4 separate regions of the Homo sapiens genome follow, and regions 1, 3 and 4 are each linked to region 2. The links are contacts of gene promoters, found by promoter capture Hi-C in blood cells and fetal thymus (Javierre and others, 2016). All regions are on one chromosome and are shown on one strand. Each heading gives the region's core, a stretch centred on a gene start or on the middle of the fragment in contact. The rest is flanking DNA. Distances are from core to core; before and after follow the strand shown.

The links. The method cuts DNA at HindIII sites, captures the fragments that hold promoters and counts their contacts. A CHiCAGO score of 5 or more calls a contact.
Region 1: a fragment that was not itself captured here is called in contact with the fragment with the promoter of LMOD2 in region 2 in 4 of 17 cell types (erythroblasts, activated CD4 T cells, naive CD8 T cells and 1 more); the score reaches 6.7 in erythroblasts.
Region 3: a contact is called between a fragment that was not itself captured here and the fragment with the promoter of LMOD2 in region 2, in 15 of 17 cell types (megakaryocytes, fetal thymus, naive CD4 T cells and 12 more). The highest score is 12.2, in megakaryocytes.
Region 4: a fragment that was not itself captured here is called in contact with the fragment with the promoter of LMOD2 in region 2 in 1 of 17 cell types (total CD8 T cells); the score reaches 5.0 in total CD8 T cells.

The regions. Positions count from the first base shown.
Region 1 is chr7:123,887,856-123,890,913 of GRCh38, forward strand. No RefSeq gene overlaps it. Among named protein-coding and RNA genes, the nearest start is that of SPAM1, 36 kb to the right of the region's middle. The HindIII fragment of the contact is 2,104 bases long and covers 487-2,590 here.
Region 2 is chr7:123,653,776-123,657,259 of GRCh38, forward strand. LMOD2 (leiomodin 2) reads left to right here and starts at 2,091. Exons shown (of 3, transcript NM_207163.3): 1 at 2,091-2,461. The coding sequence starts at 2,189. The HindIII fragment of the contact is 9,966 bases long and covers 1-3,484 here.
Region 3 is chr7:123,866,518-123,869,917 of GRCh38, forward strand. HYAL4 (hyaluronidase 4) reads left to right here. Exons shown (of 5, transcript NM_012269.3): 3 at 1,706-2,710. The coding sequence starts at 1,757. Among named protein-coding and RNA genes, the nearest start is that of HYAL4, 23 kb to the left of the region's middle. The HindIII fragment of the contact is 477 bases long and covers 1,785-2,261 here.
Region 4 is chr7:123,805,312-123,808,550 of GRCh38, forward strand. It overlaps a transcript of HYAL4 not described here. Among named protein-coding and RNA genes, the nearest start is that of HYAL4, 38 kb to the right of the region's middle. The HindIII fragment of the contact is 178 bases long and covers 1,575-1,752 here.

The DNA of each region.
Region 1 (3,058 bases), core at 289-2,788, 230 kb after region 2:
TTCAATGTGTCTGTGTGTCTAATTTTCCCTGGTCATGAGTCAAGAGCCTGGATTTTAGCTGAACTAAGGAGCAAAAAATCCTGCATCACTAGCATTTCCACCCTTAGGTATATACCCAAGGTAAATGAAAATACATGTCCATACAGAAACTTGTACATAAATGTTTATAGAAGTAGTATTCATAATAATGAAAAGGTGAGAACAACCCAAATGCTCATCAACTGATGAATGGATAAAATGTAATATCTTCATACAATGGAATATTGTTTGCCACAAAAAGGAATGACACATAAATACATGCTACCATTGGGGTGCAGAAAACAGTTCCTCAAAATATAGTGCTTGGGCATATTGAATGCTTTTGCAAATTAAAAGGCCTCAGAAATAAGCCTCAGAATTAAGATCCTTCTAACATTGTCTTGTTCCTCCCCCAACCCCAAGTACAGGGAACAATTTTTGACTGGAACTTCCTTATCTGACCAAGAAAGCTTATTACCAAAAGAAACACAATTACCTTCTATCCTCTCCCTGAAATCTCATTATCTATTGCAGAAAAGAAGACTGAGGAATGCAACCACAACTGAATGGACTTTTCCACAAGATAATTTCTGCCTCTTGGACCCATTCAAATTCCAAAGAGAATCATTTAGAAATTAATTTGTCTCCCTAGTTCATTCATTCTCCCTAATTATCATGTACTACCACTCAAAAGAATTGTCTACATTTCCCACTTCCTTTCTCCCCTATGAAAAGGGTAAATAAACTTTTGTACCCCATTTGGAGGTTAGGCATGTTAATAAAATGTGTATGCCTTTTCTCCTCCTGCCTTTTGTCAGGTAATTTTCGGTAAACTTTCAGAGGGCAAAGGGGAAGTTTGCCTTTCATCCTTACAGTCTGGTACTGTACACTTAGTAACAAATCACTCTGTTCATTCTGAGGGCTATGAATGGGATCTTGGGACAGTTGACAAAAAGCCAGAAAAGAAAGGTAAGAATTTGTTTTTGTTTTTTTTTAACCAGGTAAGTTCTCCCAGATAGCTGCCTGTGGTGCCAGATCAAATAAAGGTAGTAAGAGTATTTGTCTTTTTCCCTCCCCAAATTGGGTTAACAGGTGGGGTTTGGGGAAGGGAGTATGAGAACTAGCTCACTTATGAAATAAGTTAATTGTCTATATTTAACTTTTTAGAGAATTCTGTCTTAAACCCTTATCCTATCGGTATCTATGAAAAGATACAAAAAGAATATGGCCTAAAAAGTTCCCTTGGCAAGGTTAATAAAAAAGAGAAACAAAGCAGAAATCGGATTTAAAACAAAGTTAAAATATTTTGTACACTCAAACTGGCTTCCTTGAATTCCCTGAAAAGTTTGCAATGAAGGACATTCCATTTTGTAATCTTGTAGTTAAAATGCCATGTTTTTACCACAATGTCCTGGGTTTGATTGCCAGTCAGGGAATCTGTCGCTTGGAAACGTAAGTCCTTTAACTTGGGAGAAGAAACGTTTATTTAAAAATTGATTTGATGTTTGTGTTACTCTTGACTTTTGGGGTACCCATTTGTTATTAATCCTTTTCCCTTTCGTTTATAGTTTTTGATTTCCTGTCTTCTGTCTCTATGAGGCACATAAGGCTTTCAGGCCTTTTTGTGTAGATCAGATGAAAAGCTGGGACCCTAGAGAATATGGCTGGACAAAAATGTGGCTTGTACCCACTTTGTGACTAGCAAAACATTTCTTTATTTGAGCTGTCTTTGGAGGTGGTTCTGGATCTTTTGAGAATGGCATTGCACCTCCTTGGACACACCTCACACATCCTTGGTTGTTTAGCTGTCTTTGGGGTGGTTCTGCATCTTGTGAGGATCATTTTGCACCTCTTTGGAGATATCTTGTGGTTACTTGGTTAAGTCAAAACCTTGGTTAAGACTTACTGGTTTTGGTGAGTCACTTGGAAAGTTATCTATGGTTTAAAAGAAAAAGGTTCAAAAGCTAGTAATATTGGCTGTTTTTCCTGGCTAAAATCTGATAAGATATTTGAAAAGATGTTTTTAAGAGCTGTGTGGTCAAAGTCAGCTTAATTAAAAGCTGATATTTGGCCGGGCGTGGTGGCTCACATCTGTAATCCCAGCACTTGGGAGGCCGAAGCGGGCGGATCCCCTGAGGTCAGGAGTTCGAGATGAGCCTGGACAACATGGTGAAACCCAGTCTCTACTAAAAATATAAAAAAATTAGCTGGCATGATAGCGCATGCCTGTAATCCCAGCTACTCAGGAGGCTGAGGTAGGGGAACTGCTTGAACCCGGGAGGTGGAGGTTGCAGTGAGCCGGGACCGCACCATTGCACTCCAGCCTGGGCAACAAGAATGAAACTCCGTCTCAGAAAAAACAAACAAATAAAGGCTGATATTCAGGAGATAGCCAGCTAGCTAGATATGCCTTTCTACTCTTTCTCTTTTGGATTATGTTTCTCTCCTGGGAACTTTTTTTTTTTCAGTCAACTAAACCCCTTTTCAATTATGTTTGATCCTTGTTTATCTCTTTTCTTATTGATGTAATTTTTACTGAGAAAAAATGTAAAGTTTCATTGGCCTTCTGGAAAGCTTAACATCGTCTCAAATTGGGTCCTCTAAGACTTGTTCTCTCATTTATTTCTACTCCTTCTTTTTTTTTGCTACCATTTATATTACATAAATCTATGTTACATTTAGTGACCCTGAGATCCTTGAGGAACACAGTAAAAGCCACCACATATCCCCTTTTCAGGGTCTTTTATTTTCCTCATGGAGTTCCAAGCATTATGGGCAGGTCTCTCTCAGGTCTAAAAGCTGTGCTGTCTCTCACATTAAGCATCTCTTTGGTTTTTGAGCGTAGCAGGGGCTAATATGTATTGTAAGAGCACTTGAATTTTGGGTATGTGATGGCTGGCAAGTCCCTGGCAAAGCTGCAGTTTTGAAGGTGGGCTGATAGTGGTTGCAGTGAGTGGTTATTACTGTAGATGGCTACTCATTTCTTTGTGCATTTAGATGAGAAAAGTGAGGGTTGTACACTTGAAGACTGTAGAAACAC
Region 2 (3,484 bases), core at 841-3,340:
TGTATGTTTACTAGAGACAGGGTTTTGCCATGTTGGCCAGGCTGGTCTCAAACTCCTGGGCTCAAGTGATCTGCCCACCTCAGCCTTCCAAAGTGTTGGAATTACAGGCGTGAGCCACCGTGCATGGCCAGAAAAAGATTTCTTAACTATAACACCAAGCAATACAACAAAAAAATTGATAAATTGGTCTTGGACTTCACCAAAATTTAAAAAGTTTGCTCTTCAAAATGAATCAAAAGACAAGCCCCAGAATAGAAAAAAAAAGTCATATACCTAATAAAATATTTGTCTCCAGCACATATAAAGATTCTTACAACTCAATAATAAGGAGACAATTAACCCAATTTTAAAATGGGCATAAGCAAGAGATTGAGGCTGCAGTGAGCTATGATCACTCCACTGCACTCCAGCCTGGGTGACCGAGCAAGACCCTGTCTCAAAAAGTTGTTTAAAAAAGGGGGAGGTAAGATTTGAATAAATATTTCACCAAAGAAGATATAAGGTGGCCAATAAACACATGAAATGATGAACATCTTACTAGGGAAATGAAAATTAAAACTATCATTTGACACCCTCTAAAATGACTATAATAGAAAGACAAGCAATAATAGGTGAGGATGTCGAGAAACCGGAACTCTCATTCATTGCTGATGGGAATGTAAATTGGTACAGCCGTTTCGGAAAACAGTTTTTTACAGTTTCTTAAAAAGTAAATTTACCATATAACCCAGTAATTCTGCTCCTACATATCTACTCAAAATAAATGAAAACCTGAGGTTACTCAAACACTTGCATGTAAATGTTCATAGAAACTTTATTCATAGATAAAAGGTAGAAACCCAAAGCTAGAAACAACCCAAATATTCACCAGCTGCTGAAGGTATAATCAGAATATCATGTACTATACATGTATTGATAAATGTATTTTTGTATGCATTAATATTTTTAATAGATTTTACATATCTATAAAATGGTGTTATATTTATGGAGTCCTATAAACTATGGATTTATTTTAACATATACACAACAATATGCTCATATATAATTTCTTTTTTTAATTTGTGCAAATGTATGGAGTACATAAGAAAATTTGTTGTATATATATAATATGTAGTGATTAAGTCATATATATAATTTCAAATTAGCATCTCTTCCATTTTCAGGCCAGATACAAATCTGGGCTCAGATTCTAGCTCTCTCACTTCTTAGCTCTGTGCTCCCATGCTAGTAACTTAACCTCTCTGAGTGTGTACTAGTTAAGTACAGGCACTAATGTACACCTTACAGGACTGTAGAATTAAAGGAGATAATGCTTAACACTGGAATGGCATAATGTCAGTCCTTAATAAATCATATCCAGTATTATTATTTGTATTTTTCGAGTTTCATTTGCAAGTCTAGATTTTTACTAGTAATCATGGTGAGTAGGAAGAAGCATTTCGTTCAGTGGAGAAAGACACCTCTCTGTACTTTCAGCTCTCCAACTTCTGACGTTTCACTTAATCTCTGAGAGCCTCAGTTGCCAACATCTATAAATGAGAATCATGTTATTCATCTCACAGTATTTATGATTAGAAAAACTTATTGAAGTGCTTTGTAAACTGCAAAGTAGGATAAAATTATGAAATACTATATTATTATGACCTTTTGTCCCCATCAATACCACCTACAGTATGTTTATAGAAGAACCAAAATAACTACCCATGGAGTATTGTGGAGACATTTCTCAACCCTAAGATTATAATGAAAGAATCTTTTCATGGCCATGGAGGTGGTGGCAAGTCATTTTCAAAATAAATTTTATTTCCCTGTTGTTTGAATACAAAGTGAGAAGAACTGTGTTACTCCTTATCTGAAACACTCTGCCTGTCCTCATGAGCTATCAGACTCAGCTAAATATGGCCCTGGCCAGTATGTTAATAATCCCCACTGGTTCTGAGACCTCCATCCACCACCGATGTGACATTCTTTGTGTTCAAATGTCTAGCTGACGTCTGATGCTTAAAACAGCCCATGCCTTCACCCCTCTCTGCATTGTCACAGCCCTGTATCACCACTCTTAAAAGGCTCCCACAGCCACTCCTAGCACCAGTTGTTGACCAGCCTGCCACTTGCCTCCCTGCCTGCTTCTGGCCGCCTTGAATGCCTGGTCCTTCAAGCTCCTTCTGGGTCTGACAAAGCAGGGACCATGTCTACCTTTGGCTACCGAAGAGGACTCAGTAAATACGAATCCATCGACGAGGATGAACTCCTCGCCTCCCTGTCAGCCGAGGAGCTGAAGGAGCTAGAGAGAGAGTTGGAAGACATTGAACCTGACCGCAACCTTCCCGTGGGGCTAAGGCAAAAGAGCCTGACAGAGAAAACCCCCACAGGGACATTCAGCAGAGAGGCACTGATGGCCTATTGGGAAAAGGAGTCCCAAAAACTCTTGGAGAAGGAGAGGCTGGGGGAATGTGGAAAGGTAGGCTCTCGGGACTTTTCCTTGGCTAACCCCACCTCCCCATCACCCCATCCCAAACCCAGACACTTGTTTTCCCTAACTTCTCAATCCTCATCACTTGAATTTTCCTATAACCCATTTATACTTGCTACTAAATCATTTTTCAGGCTGAAATAATCATGTAAATGCTATGGCCACCCAATGGATCATAATATGTAAAATTCTTAATTGGGGCTCTTTGATTGATTACAAATAGAAAGCTCAAGAGGAAAATAATTCACAATCAGTGTATGGGATTCAATATTTTGCCAAACATAAGTGTTGTTTGAGCTATATGTTGGTAATGTGGCATAATATTTGTTCCCAAGATACATGCATACGTATAAATGTATACTTTTTTTTCAGTTAAGTACATTTATTTTCTCCTATAAAGACAAAAGTGGGAACGCTGGTTGCTTTGACTGTGATAGTAGCTATGGTGAAATAGTTCTTTTCCAATACCAAGAAGTGTGGGGTGGTGGGAAGTACATGACACTGAGAGTCACAGGGCCTTGTTATGAGTCCCTGCTCTGTTCCCACATCTTTAGACCTTGAACAATCACTTTTACAGGGTTCTCTTTCCCTCTGGACATTGAGGGAGTTAGAGACAGTGTTTCTTTTGCGAATCAAGAACCCCTTTGAGATTTTGATAAGTTATGAACCTTCTTAAGAAAATAGCCCTGGGCTTGTGCAAAATACACCAACTTTTGCATAGAATTTCAAAATGATAACACATCCTGAAACCCATCTGAGGACTCAGGGGCAGCACAGCTGTATAGATGATCTCTTCGATTTCTGTCTCCTTTACGATGGTGATCCTGAGGTTAGGAAATGTGCTTATATCAGAGCTCAGGCCTATAAAGCTCTTGTGTACTGCCCAGTAAACAGTTATTTTGAATTTGCCAAATGAGTCAATACCAGAAGGAAGTCCAAAAGACTATTATTCTCTGGGAAAACAGTAATGACAATAAAGTGTCCATATAACAAAAAAAAAATTCTTCCGGA
Region 3 (3,400 bases), core at 773-3,272, 210 kb after region 2:
GGGGTCTGTATCCGGAGCACACAGCCAAAGGACAAATGTCTACTGGACACCTTAATCTCACTAGGCATCAGGCATAACCACAATGCATTTTCATCTTAATGACACACAAGACTGCAAACGTTTTATGCCATCAAACCCTTTGATGAGCTTTTACAAAAATAATTTCATAGTAGTTTTACAAAGAGATGACTAAAAAATAACTTGACAAAGTAGCCACTATCGTCTTCCCTCTTCTACTATCCAAACACCTACCTATCTTCTCTTTCTCTCTCTTTTTTTTTTTTTTTTTTTTGAGACTGAGTCTCGCTCTGTTGCCAGGCTGGAGGGCAGTGGTGTGATCTTGGTTCACTGCAACCGCCACCTCCCAGGTTGAAGCGATTCTCCTGCCTCAGCCTCCTCAGTAGCTGGGACTACAGGCATGTGCCACCACGCCAAGCTAATTTTTGTATTTTTGGTAGAGATGGGGTTTCCCCATGTTGGCCAGGATGGTCTTGATCTCTTGACCTTGTGACCATCTCGGCCTCACCAAAGTGCTGGGATTATAGGCGTGAGCCACCCTGCCTGGCTCTATCTTCTCTTTTAACTCCAGTGTCTTCCCTGAGACATTCTGTTACACCAGGGGTTTGGTCTAGGTCCTGTTGCTTGCTGCAGAGAAAGCCAATCACTGAGTCAAGGAGTATTGCTGGGGAAGAAGGCCTTATTTGGGTGCTGCAGCCAAGGAGAATAAAGGATCAGTCTGGAATCCATCTCCCCAAGCAACTAAAATTTGGGGTCTATAAAGTAGGGAAGAAAAGTAACTATGTGTGGGAAAACAGGAATTAAGGAAGGGTAAGAAAGAGGACTTGGTCAACAGGCAAGTGGTCAGTTAGGCAATCATGATGAGTGAGGCATCTGGTGTCTCATTGTTTAGATGTGATAATCTGGTAAGTTTCAGTTCCTTGAAACATTCTGGGAGGCTTGATGGTTGGTTTACCGAGAAAGGAACCCAGATAAGACAAATATAACTTTCTTAAGTTTTACCCTGGGAGGGTCAATTTCTAAGTTTATTCAGAAGAAACCCAAAACATCTATTCTTTGGGATAGTTGGGCTGGTTTTAATTTCTTGCCACTCAAATCACTTTCCTTTCCATTCCTACCTACTGCTTACTCCAAGAAGTAATTGCTCCAATAAATTATCATGTAGTACTTGTTATGCATTTTTATTATTTAAATTTTACATCACCTTGCCTTCCATATAAAGTGACATCAGGCAAGCCTTTTCATCTCTCTAAGCCTCAGTTTCCCCATTTGTAAAATGGAAATGTAATTATAAGCCTTATGTAGTTATTACAAGTTTAAAAAAAATATTTACAAAGCAGTTAAGCACAATGCCTGGGATTTGATGAGTTTTGCAAAATGATGGTAAATATTATTTCACATCTTTATCTGATCATGAACTCCTTAAAGGCAAGGACTACATCTTATTCATTTTGTTTTCTGGACATGGGGTCTGGTGCTCCATGAATGTTTGTTGAATTGCATTTCCTGCCCCTGAATAGAAGCTAGGTCTCTACATATGCTTCTATATCTCAATTTATTTATAGGCCTCTTTGAGACCTTTAAGTGATACACTTTACAAATAGTCATATATAATAATAATATCTATTTATTATTTGAGTCTTTTTCCTCAAAACTATGACTAACAGAAAATTAAATCTCTCCACAGGTCTTCTAGAGTGCACTAAAGCAGAAGATAACGTAACATTTTTATCTTACCATGAAAGTATTATCTGAAGGACAGTTAAAGCTTTGTGTTGTTCAACCAGTACATCTCACTTCATGGCTCCTTATATTTTTTATTCTAAAGTCTATCTCTTGTCTAAAACCTGCTCGACTTCCAATTTATCAAAGGAAACCTTTTATAGCTGCTTGGAATGCTCCAACAGATCAGTGTTTGATAAAATATAATTTAAGACTAAATTTGAAAATGTTTCCTGTGATTGGAAGCCCACTGGCCAAGGCCAGGGGGCAAAATGTCACTATATTTTATGTCAACAGATTGGGATACTATCCGTGGTATACATCACAAGGGGTCCCCATTAATGGAGGTCTCCCACAGAACATAAGTTTACAAGTACATCTGGAAAAAGCTGACCAAGATATTAATTATTACATCCCTGCTGAAGATTTCAGTGGACTTGCTGTTATAGATTGGGAATATTGGCGACCACAGTGGGCCCGGAACTGGAACTCAAAAGATGTTTACAGACAGAAGTCAAGAAAGCTTATTTCCGATATGGGAAAGAATGTATCAGCTACCGATATTGAATATTTAGCCAAAGTGACCTTTGAAGAAAGTGCAAAAGCTTTCATGAAGGAAACCATCAAATTGGGAATTAAGAGCCGACCCAAAGGCCTTTGGGGTTATTATTTATATCCTGATTGCCACAATTATAACGTTTATGCCCCAAACTACTCTGGGTCATGCCCAGAAGACGAAGTCTTGAGGAACAATGAGCTCTCTTGGCTCTGGAACAGCAGTGCTGCTTTATATCCTTCTATCGGTGTCTGGAAATCCCTTGGAGACAGTGAAAACATTTTGCGCTTCTCCAAATTTCGGGTGCATGAATCCATGAGGATCTCCACCATGACATCTCATGATTATGCTCTGCCTGTATTTGTCTACACAAGGCTAGGGTACAGAGATGAACCTTTATTTTTCCTTTCTAAGGTAAGAAGCTTCTTGTCCAATGGTGGGGGATTTCCTCCTTATCTCTAAAAGGACATTTCTTTGTTAATTATGTTCTTTGAAGAATTGATTTCAATTAATGGTTTGTTATATGGGAGCATAATTCTTCCTTGACTAGTCATGCATTTAGACTCTTCATTTATGGAAACTGAATTTTGATTATCTTACTCATTATTATTCTCTTAAGGAACAAAGTAAGGTGAGAAAGGGTTAAAGTAGATACCAGCAACGACTACATTTCCTGCACACCAACTTTAACTGTACTCACTTACAATCGGGCATTTTGGAAGGTTATTGAAATGATCGGCAGTGAGCAGGTTAGACAATCAAAAAGGATGTTTTGAAATGGAGTGTTTGCTCATACATGTGGAAGCAGAATTGTCTAGCCACTTAAACAAAAAAATTCTAGGGAAAGTAGTGGGTATTTTAATCTTTGTTTTGTTTTTTTTTTTTCTTCAAGATGGAGTTTTTTGTTCTTGTCACCTAGGCTGGAGTGTAATGATGCAATCTCGGCTCACTGCACCCCCCACCTCCTGGGTTCAAGCGATTCTCCTGCCTCAGCCTCCCAAGTAGCTGGGTTTACAGGTGCTCACCCCCCCCCACCCAGCTAATTTTTGTACTTTTAGTAAAGACGGGGTTTCACCATGTTGGACAGGCTGGCCTTGAACTCCT
Region 4 (3,239 bases), core at 414-2,913, 150 kb after region 2:
CTGCATAAGCAATAATGTTGTTGGATATGAATTTTATTCTTTTCCTTTCCAATTCTTATGTCTTTAAATGAAGGAAGGTATAAATGGAATTATATTATTGTAAAGTTATTACATTTTTGAAATGTGGAGTGTAAAATGTGAAGGGGGAAGTGAGAATTGAAAAGTGGGAAGTGGAAAGTGATAGGTATGAAATGTAAAGTGTGAATAACAGTAATACTGAAGCTAGGTAGACATTGATAATTTAAGTTATATTATCAGTCCCAGAACAACTACTAACAACATAATAAAAAAGAAATAGAATGATGGAGGCAGTAGATAAAGTGAAAGAGCAAGAAAGGCATGATATTTAATAAAAAAGAGAAGATACAAAATGAAAATAAGAAGTAAGATCATAGACTCAAAATCCACTGTACTAATTGTTACATTATGTAATATATTTATTATATTACATAAACACACCAGTTAAAAGGCAGAAATTGCAGTAAAAGAATCAGCAGGCTTTTTTGGTAGAAATGACTGGTCTATTTTAAAATATAGGCCGGGCGTAGTGGCAGGCACCTGTAATCCCAGCTACTTGGAGGCTGAAGCGGGAGAATCACTTGAACCCGGGAGGTAGAGATTGCAGTGAGGCGAGATTGAGCCACTGTACTCCAGCTTGGGTGACAACAGGGAGACTCCGTCCGAAAAAATAAATAAATGAGTAAATAAAATAAAATATATATGGAAATGCAAAGGATCTAGAGTATCCAAAACAATTTTGCAAAAGAAACATAAAGTTGAAGGAGTTATACCATCTGATTTCAAGACTCATCAACAAAACTGAAATAATCAAGACAAGATGAGGCTGGCATAATAGTACATACAGAGATCAATCAAATTATTGATGAGGTGAGAGTGTTGCACTGGGAGCAGCTGGCCTTGGAACATGGAGGGGAAAGGAGGATGCTGAAACCAAAGTAAGTTCCATAGGTGGGCTTTAGGTAGGCAGAAAGGAGGCCCCAACCTTGCCAAAGTAATGAAGGTTTTCCTTTCGTGTGGAGGCTTTAGTGTATTTAGTGTAGCTCATTCTTGGGAAATACTGCCAATTTCTCCATTACTCCTTAGTGTGGCAGTCTGATGTAGCCATAATCTTGCTTTCCTTTTTTTTTTGGGACGGAGTTTCACTCTTGTTGTCCAGCCTGGAGTGCAATGGTGGGATCTTGGCTCACCGCAACCTCTGCCTCACAGGTTCAAGCGATTCTCCTGCCTCAGCCTCCTAAGTAGCTGGGATTACAAGCATGCGCCACCACGCCCAAGTAATTTTGTATTTTTTTTTTTTTCAGTAGAGATGGGATTTCTCCATGTTGGTCAGGCTGGTCTCAAACTCCCAACCTCAGGTGATCCATCCAACCCAGCCTCCCAAAGTGCTGAGATTACAGGCATGAGCCACCACGCCCGGCCCTTGCTTTCCATTTCTCTCGTACTCCTTCTGTCTCTCTCTCTTCCTTTCACCTCAGTGGCCAGGCTAGTAGCTGTCTCCAGATGGTCACACCACTTTTTAGAAAGCAGTGCTCAAGGCTTCAGGCTAGTGAAAAAGCTTCACTCAGTCAGGTACTCCTAGTACTTAGGGAATGGGAAGGGACAGGATTGGCCTAGTTATTCCACAGGAAGTCCTTCAGTTGATCCTTATAGATGTCCTACAGTTACCCCAGCTCCTGGACCTTTTGGGGGAAAATTACATTACTGCATACAATTTCTTTTCCCCAGATTTAAAGCTTATGTGATATATAGCAATTTCCCTGCTTATTTCTGAAGGAGTTATAAACCTCATAGACTTTTTAGAGAATCATTTATTTCTTCGAAAAGAATCTAATCTGAACTGACCTGGCTTTAAATTTCTCATCAGAAATTTAAAATACAGGCAAACTTGAGCAAAATGCTTTTTTGTATCAAGTCTGCTTTAATCAATATTTCTCTTCTTTTTCTTTTCATAAAAGCTACTACTATTATCTCTTTGAGAAAACTAAAACCATAAATAATGTGCAGGTTTGAAAAAAATTGATCAATGCTGGATGTCATCATTAGAGTTCAAACTTCCTTTTAAAAAATTTTTTGACTTAATTTTACTTTTACTTTTTATGGTTTTTTTTTTTTTTTTTTTTGAGACAGAGTCTCGCTCTGTCACCCAGGCTGGAGGGCAGTGGTGCAACCTCTGCCTCAGCTCACTGCAACCTCTGCCTTTCAGGTTCAAGCAATTTTCCTGCCTCAGCCTCCTGAGTAGCTGGGATTACAGGTGTGTGCTGCCACGCCTGGCTAATTTTTGTATTTTTAGTAGAGATAGGTTTTCACCATGTTGGTTAGGCTGGTCTCGAACTCCTGAACTTAGGTGATCCACCTGCCTTGGCCTCTCAAGGTGCTCAGCCTCTCAAGGTGCCTGGCCTATTTTTTATGTATTTTTGAAGACAGGGTCTCATTCTGTCACCCAGGCTGGAGTGCAGTGGCATGATCATAGTTCGCGGTAGCCTCAACCTCCCAGACTCAAGTGATCCTCCTGCCTTAGCCTTCTGAGTAGCTAAGACTTCAAGTGCATGCCACCACATCCAGCTAATATTTTTAGCTGGATAATTATTATTATTATTATTATTATTATTATTATTATTATTTTGTAGAGACAGACTCCCACTGTGTTTCCCAGGATGGTCTCAACTTCTTGGGCTCAAACAATACTCCCACCTCGGCCCCCCAAAGTGGTGTGATTACAGGCATGAGGTACTATAGTTGCCCAGCCAGGGCTCAAGCTTTCGTGCAAACAAGACCCTCCATAAAAGAAAATCTCATCTTTGCTTGGAATGCCTGATAATACATTACAAAAGGCTTTATGGTATATATGTAAACCTTTGTTGATTAAAAGTTCTTGCAAATTCCAATGTGATTTTTTTTACTGGGTCCTAGGTTTAACAATGCTTTATCATAATGAACTTAGTGATTGATGATTTCATAGTACATAAGAATGTGTTTCCCTGATAAGACTTGCTATCCTTGAGTGGAAAGAATGAAATTCCCGGTTGCATAGAAATGTGTACACACACACACACACGCATGCACACATATTTTATATGTATCATCACGTGTGTGTGTGTGTGTGTGTGTGTGTGTGTGTGTGTGTGTGTGTGTATTTTCTGGTTTAGACCATCTCAGTAGGTTCACATTTCAGTGGCAGAAAATGTATGAAAAAAAGCATGGTAAAGCCTCATGCTCAT